Regions from separate parts of the Homo sapiens genome. Here region 1 is linked to region 2. Evidence: promoter capture Hi-C in human tissues and cell types (Jung and others, 2019). All regions are on one chromosome and are shown on one strand. Each heading gives the region's core, a stretch centred on a gene start or on the middle of the fragment in contact. The rest is flanking DNA. Distances are from core to core; before and after follow the strand shown. Region 1 overlaps TECRL (trans-2,3-enoyl-CoA reductase like). Region 2 holds the start of TECRL (trans-2,3-enoyl-CoA reductase like).

Region 1 (4,162 bases), core at 935-3,434, 34 kb before region 2:
TTTTTCAATGTCTTTCAAAAATTGGCAAATACATTCTTTTAAATACTTTATATAATGTAATGCAGCAAAAAGTGTTTTTGTGTGTCTTCAATTTGTAAAACCTAAAGATCAATAAAATTTTGAAATACACTATGATATATGGGAAAATGCTGAAATATTATTTTTATATTTTAGATGATTGAAATAATATTAAAATAAAGATAATTTTGAAAAAGTGAAAAAAGTCACTATTTAAGTAAAGCTGTTAAAGATTAGTACTTACAAAGGAAAATAAAATAATAGCTATCAATAATTCTTGCCCTGATATAACTATTGAAACTAACTATACTATTGTCATATTGTCAGCTATCTACTTTTGCAACAGGACATTTCTAGGATTTTTTGTAAGCTGCTTACTTAACTTCAGTTTCCTAAGTATTAGAAGCAGGCTCTAAATCACATAAATAGAAAACGCGTTCCTTTAAAAGTTTAAGATTTCAAGTAATTGTTATGTCTATTAGTTGACATAAATTATTATAAAAATAATACTTTTTTGTCAGGGTGACTGCACATTCTTTTACACATAAACTCGACTTTGATTCATGTACCCATTTTCCAACAATAGAAATAAGACTTTGTTATTATTGTTTTACATACAATCTTCTTGTTACACCTTTCTACTTTATATTAAAAAGTCATTTTCAAATGTCTTCCTACTTACTACTGTAATCTAAACTGTCTGGAGACACTTTATTAGATAGAATTGGTCTAAGTCAGTGTAATGCCACAAAGGTGGCAATTCAATTACTAGCTTAATGAGATCCATGTTTTATGCTAAGATAGAAATAACTATTAAAATAAATTTATTTTAAGTAGAAATACACCAAAAATACTTATATATACTATATACACTATATATATACTATACATACACACTATATGTATACAGTATATAGTAGATATATATATATCTACTATACTATAGTATAGTATATAGTAGATACATATATATATATGTATATAGTAGATACATATATATATATATATATATATATATATATTTATCTTTTTGGTTTTGTTCTTTGTCCCTTATTATAGTGCTCTTCTGGCACTGTTCAACATAACCAATTCCTATATGACTTTATAGCAAAATAAAAAATATCACCTTCCTCAAGAATTTTAAACTGAGTAAGCATATTTCAAGCAATTGTATTCCTTCCTGCATAGGCTTTCCATTTCATTACGAATTTTAAATAGATTGTACTCAAATGTTTATAAATTTTAGGTACATTCACCATTTGCAATTTATTTCTATATTCTTTTTTTTCTTTATGGGAAGGTTTTTATTCATAGATTCTTTTTTAATGTTTTCTTTTTTTTTCCAGAAATTCTTTTTATTATTATTATACTTTAAGTTTTAGGGTACATGTGCACAATGTGCAGGTTTGTTACATATGTATACATGTGCCATGTTGGTGTGCTGCACCCATTAACCCGTCATTTAGAATTAGGTATATCTCCTAATGCTATCCCTCCCCGCTCCCCCCACCCCACCACAGGCCCCGGTGTGTGATGTTCCCCTTCCTGTGTCCATGTGTTCTCATTGTTCAATTCCCACCTATGAGTGAGAACATGCGGTGTTTGGTTTTTTGTCCTTGCAATAGTTTGCTGAGAATGATGGTTTCCAGCTTCATCCATGTCCCTACAAAGGACATGAACTCATCCTTTTTTATGGCTGCATAGTATTCCATGGTGTGTATGTGCCACATTTTCTTAATCCAGTCTATCTTTGTTGGACATTTGGTTTGGTTGAAATTCTTTGCTATTGTGAATAGTGCCACAATAAACATACATGTGCATGTGTCTTTATAACATATAGAAAGTTTCCTGTTATAATAAAATTAAGTTTAAATATAAATTAAAAACAACTTTGTGAAGAAAAATTGGAAATGCTGGAGATTAAAGGATCAATTAGAGTTAAATGCTAGAATATTTATGCCAAAGAAATATTAAGCAAACTATTGTTCCTGAGCTCCTTGTAGAACTATGGTTTTCATACACTCTAACATATATTGCACTTATAGAAAAATTTAAACCTATTTGAAAATAAAACATTATGATGTAAATTCTAAATAATATATAAAACTTACATGCTTTGTGAAACTTTTGCTTAACATCATGAATAGTAGATGATTGTGTCACCTGAAAAGGAAAAGAAAATAGAGTTATTTTTAAAAACTGTTAATTTGTTTTCTATCCATTTAAGAAAAAAAAGTTTAAATATATCATAAAATTCTTACACAATAAGAATTTTTGCTTCATTTATCTTTTTAGTGATTACTATTTTGACAAGCTTGAAATGTTGCAATCAGTAACAATATAATTTTTTAAAAAAATTTGTTTGTATACAACAGTAATAGCTTTATTACATTAATTCAATCCAATTTGTATCCCTAAGATATATTTTTGAATTTTCTTTGTCCAAAATAGTCAATGTATTTTTCCACATCTCATAAAACTATCAATTAAAAATATGTCTTAATGCACAGGAATGTAAAAGAATGTATAGCAATAGTACCCGAGGATGTGAAGTTAATTTATATGGACAAATGAGAGAAATGTTTACCTCAGAATTTTATGAGACAAAAGTCACCTTAAGTCCCCTACTGACATTATTTAAATCCCCAAATAAAAGTACTAAAGGTCCATTAAAATGCATGTGAGATATATTTTTTGGATTCCTTAAGTACATAGTAATTTGATAAAATATTTGGTACTAAATTACTAAAACAAACTCTATAAATTAAAAAATGAATAAAATATTTTTTATTCATCTAAATTTAAAAATTATTGAGGACTAAAGTTCCATGCAAATACTTCAAGCCATCGCAATACTTTTTTTTCTGAATTTGTCTCAAAAGACATTTTATGATAATTCAAGAAAATATATTTCCTTTCCCTGAATAAGCATACGATACTAGTGAAATTTATTATAATCATATGTCTACATGATTTATTTATGCTACACTAAAATCCCCTTATAACTGTTTTGAAAGGGTTAAATAAAAAATGCATAAAATGTTGGTGCATAATAGTCCATAAGAATTGTTACATTACATTTGATGTTTTATTATACACTGAAAGTATAACAACAAATACATTTATTTTAACATATTTCGCCTTCTACTTAACAGGATTGTGACTAAGCATTCAGTATACTGTTCAGAACTTTTTTTATGATTTCCTGTGTGTATATGATTTACTAAATAAGACAGTTATAAGATTTAAGCCCTAAAAAGTAACAGGTATTTCAATTTGTGTTATGCTATTAATAGCAAAATGATCCTAAAACATTCTGTGTATATAAAGTTATAAATATTTCATGGCAATGCTCTTCTCTGAAAGATGTTAGAAAAAAATTTAAAAACAGTTTATATAGAGAGTAATATATATTTATATACTTGTGCATATATTTTAATTTTGGTTATTAACCTTTAATATTTAAATTTAATTTTTAAAATATTGTTTTAACAGTGTCCGTTGTTTTATCTCAATGTTTCTTATTCATTCAGCACCTTTATATGTTGCTTTCTCTGACAGAGTGGAGTAAAGGCCACGTGATATTCCCCAGAGTAACAAATATTTGTCCATTAGTTGTATCAAGGGCCATGTAATTTTAAATAAAAAATAATTTTCATAATCAATAATCCCTCGATTTGAGTTTGATATGTGTTCCTCTCACACTTTATGAGGGCACATTATCTTGTATTATGCATTGGTTGTTTAATCTATATGGAGCTGAGGATAATGACCTAGTGTTACTTTTGTTTTGTTTTATCATGTAGTACACCACAGAGCATATAATAAGCTTTAATTAACTTTTGTAGAAGTCAAAAATAAAGCTGTGAGTGCAAACACGTAAAACCAGAGTAAGATCAAAGTTTCTTAATCTGATATGCAAAAGCTGTATGCCATTCTCCACGCCAGAATAATGCAATAGACAAACTTCTAATTTGATATATGCTTTTTTCTTTCAATTTGCTTATTTTCAAGACTAACATTGTTTTCCTGAACGAAACCTTCATGTGGAATAGGGATGTATTATACACTCTTAACATTTCTAAAAATTTTCATTTGACTTTCACTTGTTAGAAAAGTGCTGATTTTGAATAAATTCTTGAGA
Region 2 (4,076 bases), core at 254-2,753:
CTCATCGCTTATATATGGCCTCAGTAGAACTATAGAAAAAGCATATGATTTAAAACTGTACAGAAATGGTTTTAGATCTTTTAGTTCAATTCATGACCTGTGTGCACTAATAAAAGGTCTTAATCTTTCTTTTCCATCTATGAATTAAAGTTAATATAACTCAATTTATAAACTGCTCATAGTGTTATAATTACTGAATAAGAAATTATATATTATGTGCTTGGCAATTATTAAAGAAAGGACTAAACAGCTTCTTTTTTCCTTTTTTCTAAAGACCTAGCTAGAACATGGAAAAACGGAATGATTGATTGCATTTTATTTTTAGAACACAGCAACAAAAACGTATTCAATATTTTTGTAAAACAAGATCAAGCTCTATTTTATTACCTGTACAAATATGCCTTTCTCATATTAAGTTAATAGTACTTTTCAAATTTATTAAAAACTGAAAATGCTTGGAATATTATTTATGCATATATTTATCTAAAATATAAACATATATTTATAATTTAGTTTTCTAACCTAAGAAGAGTATATTTTCTCATTCCTTAGTGCAACACCTGTGAATATGGATTTGGACGAGTAACATTTCAAAACATTATTTTCATGAACTTAAATAGTGTTTTTGAAGCAAGTAAACTTTCATAAAAAGTGAGGTAGTCACTTTTTAAGAAAAATAATAAAATCAATTCAAAATAATGCTTAAATGATTAAATTTTTTCAGACATATTACATGTTACTTCTAACAACTACTGTGGCTTTTGCTTACTATTTTCTATAGAAACTAATCAAACTCTATGATAATTTGTATATACAATGAAGTACACGAAGACAAAAACCTGGAGACATTTTACATGTAGGAAAATAGGTTGAGCATTTGTAATTTTACCTGTGGACAATGGTCAATGACAGCATAAAATTCACAGACCAATGACAGAACCTCATTATTATCTACCATTTAATTAATTTAAATTGAGTATGAGAGATGCATTGAACATCTTCTATTAAAACAATGCATAAAGTATGCATCCTGTTCACCACAAAATTAAGGTAAAAGTCAGAAATGTATTTCAGAACAGTCGTGTTAGAATTTAATCAAGCAATCAATAATATTTGGGGCAGAGAAGAAACACTTAAACAAACAAACAAATAAATAAATAAATAAACTCACCTTATCCAGAATACATATCTGTTTCCTTGTTTGAGCATCAAATATTTCAATCTCAAAGTGAGTCGTTTTTGAATGTTTGACTGCTGGAGTTGGTCTTAGAGGGCCCGCTGAGAGTACAAGTTTTGACAAAAAGTGAAAATTTCTCATATCATCCTTCAGTATGAACCGTGTAGCTCTTTGGGAAAGTAATGCTCTCTTGCGTTCCGAAGCGAGGGACTTGTGCCTTTTGAACATTGTGTGAACTAAGAGGAGGGTCTGTCATGTCAAAAGTAGAAAATTGCAAGTGTGTTCCTTTTGCATCAGTTAAATACTGCTGGAGAACCTTTGAAAGGTCAAATGGTATGCCATTCCAAGAGTTCAGTTTTATTTAGCAGGCTTGAAAACAGTGACTGATCTTATTTCTATATATAACACGCTATTGTGATTTGCTGTGTAGAGTATTACTTTACCAGCAATTGAATGATTTCTTGCTTTCTCCTTTTATCTCTGCTTTGTAATATGACTACTCTTATCTGAAATTCCAAAGCAAGAATAGACAGAACATTTTCATCATCTCTGAGTTCTGGATGCACTGATCTTCAAACACACACACACATTTGCATTGAGATGTATTTAACATTAGCAAAGTGCTATCTTAAAGTTAAATTTTTAAAAGTCCTAGTACATTACTATGTAACATTTAAAAAATCCTGTCTAAGGTAAAGAGAAGTGGCATATATATGTTTATATATGTTTTATATATAAATATATGTGCATGTGCATGTAAAGCATTCTAAAGTGAAAAATTTATTTTTGTCAGTACTAATTACAAATCCCAACGAACTTAAAATAACTGTTACACAATATAAAATGATGAATTCTTCACTTCATATAAACATTGAAAAGATAGCAAACTATGAGATTAGAATTTGATAGAGAACAATTTTGTAACCTGGGGAAAAAGAAGTAAACATTATTTTAACATTGTATATCTTTGGAAATCTGTTGAACTGATATACAAAATCTGTAGTCAGCATCACATTTTCCACAACACTATGTTATAGAAAATACAGATAGCCTCAGAATGAAAAATGAAATCTGAAAAACATCCTGGCAAAAGAGCTTTTAGAAAAACTCCTAGTCCTCTGAGATATGTAAATCTGATGAAGAAACAACTGAAAAAAAAATCCAAAACATATTATCACTGATTCAAAATGATATTAAAGGAAAATATTCTGGAATGTGATTTTCAATGAAAACATACAAATAAAATGACACAAAATATATAGGGGAGGAAACCTGTTATCTACCTGAGGCTAATCTTTACTTTTATAAACAACTAAAATAATGTATTCATTTTTAATTTTATTATACATTATGCCCTAGAGATTCACTTTACACTCTTCAGTTATTATGTTGACACTTAATATTTTATATTACATTACATTCAATATTTTATATTTTCAAAAATATAAATGATAGGGATATGTGTCTTTTTACACGTATGTGTGGGCACACATTATGCAACTTTATCATCTGGTTGTTCAGCACTTCAAACTTGGAATCATCTTTAACTTCTCCATTTCTCCCACACCTCACATCTAATCCATCAGAGATCCACTACACAATCTGTTCACAGTTACAATCCAAGCATGAATCTCACCTGTATTGCATATCCAAACTGCTCTTCCTACCCCAACACTAGTCAATCAATAGTCTATTTTTAAAACAGTAGGTGGAGTGACCTGGTTCTATATTAAGTGGGTAACTTAATCTGCTCAACACACTGCAGGGGCTTTCTATTTTATGTTAAAAAAAAAAAAAAAGCCAAAGATATTTGCAAAGGTTTGCAAAGTTCTGCATCACCCAGCACCCTATGACATCTCTCTGACCATATCCCCTAACCTATTTACAGCATTTAGAACAGTTTCTAATATGGACTGGTGATCCATAAACAGTATTAAATAAATTAATTAATGACCAAAAAGTATAATTTGAATGTGTAACAGAATGATATTGTGCTAAGTTATTGCATTATATTGAAATGACCTAAACACTATTCATATAATGTTTCTCCAGATTTTTTTTTTTTTTATTTAAAAAAAGGAATAGTTGGCTGGGTGCAGTGGGTCACGCCTGTAATCCCAGCCCTTTGGGAGGCCGAGGTGGGCACATCACAAGTCAGGAGTTCGAGACCAACCTGGCCAACATAGTGAAACCCCGTCTCTACTAAAAATACAAAAATTCGCTGGGTGTGGTGGCGAGCGCCTGCAGTCCCAGCTACTCGGAAGGCTGAGGCAGAAGAATCACTTGAACTCAGGAGGTGGAGGTTGCTGAGAGCCAAGATCGCACCACTCCATTCCAGCCTGGGTGACAGAGCAAGACTCCGTCTCAAAAAAAAAAGAAAAAGAAAAAGAAATAGTCAAAAGAATTCAGAAGCCAATTGGAAAGAGCTCTCATAGCCAAAGTTTGAATAATTCAAGCAACAAAATAAGTACTAATAATAATGGGTTCAAATTCACAAAACAGTATACCTAGGAGTTCATACCATTATAAATAAATGATTGAATACATAATAAATAAATAAATAAATAAATAAGAACCAGGAGCAAGTCTTCCTTACACAAGACTTCCACATAATTTATGGATATATTGTCTCCTTGAGTGTGGGTTTCAATTACTGACACATTTACAAAAAATAATGAATGAAAAGGGAAAAACAGCCACTTTATAGAAGAGAAATCCGGAAAGCAGATAGCATCTTAACCACTTGACCAAGTCTATTATCACCATGAAAAGTCATGTTGCCATTCATGTACTCATTATGTCATGAAAGGAGAAGAATGCTTCACTCTTGTAATATTCCTCCAAACCTCATTATCTCAATCCAGCTACAAGAATACATCAAGGACAAATTGAGGGACAT

Evidence for each region. Contacts are between HindIII fragments. The study calls those that stand out against the background at their distance.
Region 1: a fragment that was not itself captured here is called in contact with the fragment with the promoter of TECRL in region 2 in 1 of the 25 tissues and cell types used here (heart left ventricle).

Annotation. Positions count from the first base shown.
Region 1 is chr4:64,373,043-64,377,204 of GRCh38, forward strand. It overlaps TECRL (trans-2,3-enoyl-CoA reductase like), which reads right to left. Exons shown (of 12, transcript NM_001010874.5): 2 at 2,130-2,181. Among named protein-coding and RNA genes, the nearest start is that of TECRL, 34 kb to the right of the region's middle. The HindIII fragment of the contact is 4,172 bases long and covers 99-4,162 here.
Region 2 is chr4:64,407,947-64,412,022 of GRCh38, forward strand. It overlaps TECRL (trans-2,3-enoyl-CoA reductase like), which reads right to left and starts at 1,504. Exons shown (of 12, transcript NM_001010874.5): 1 at 1,172-1,504. The coding sequence starts at 1,405. The HindIII fragment of the contact is 12,915 bases long and covers 1-4,076 here.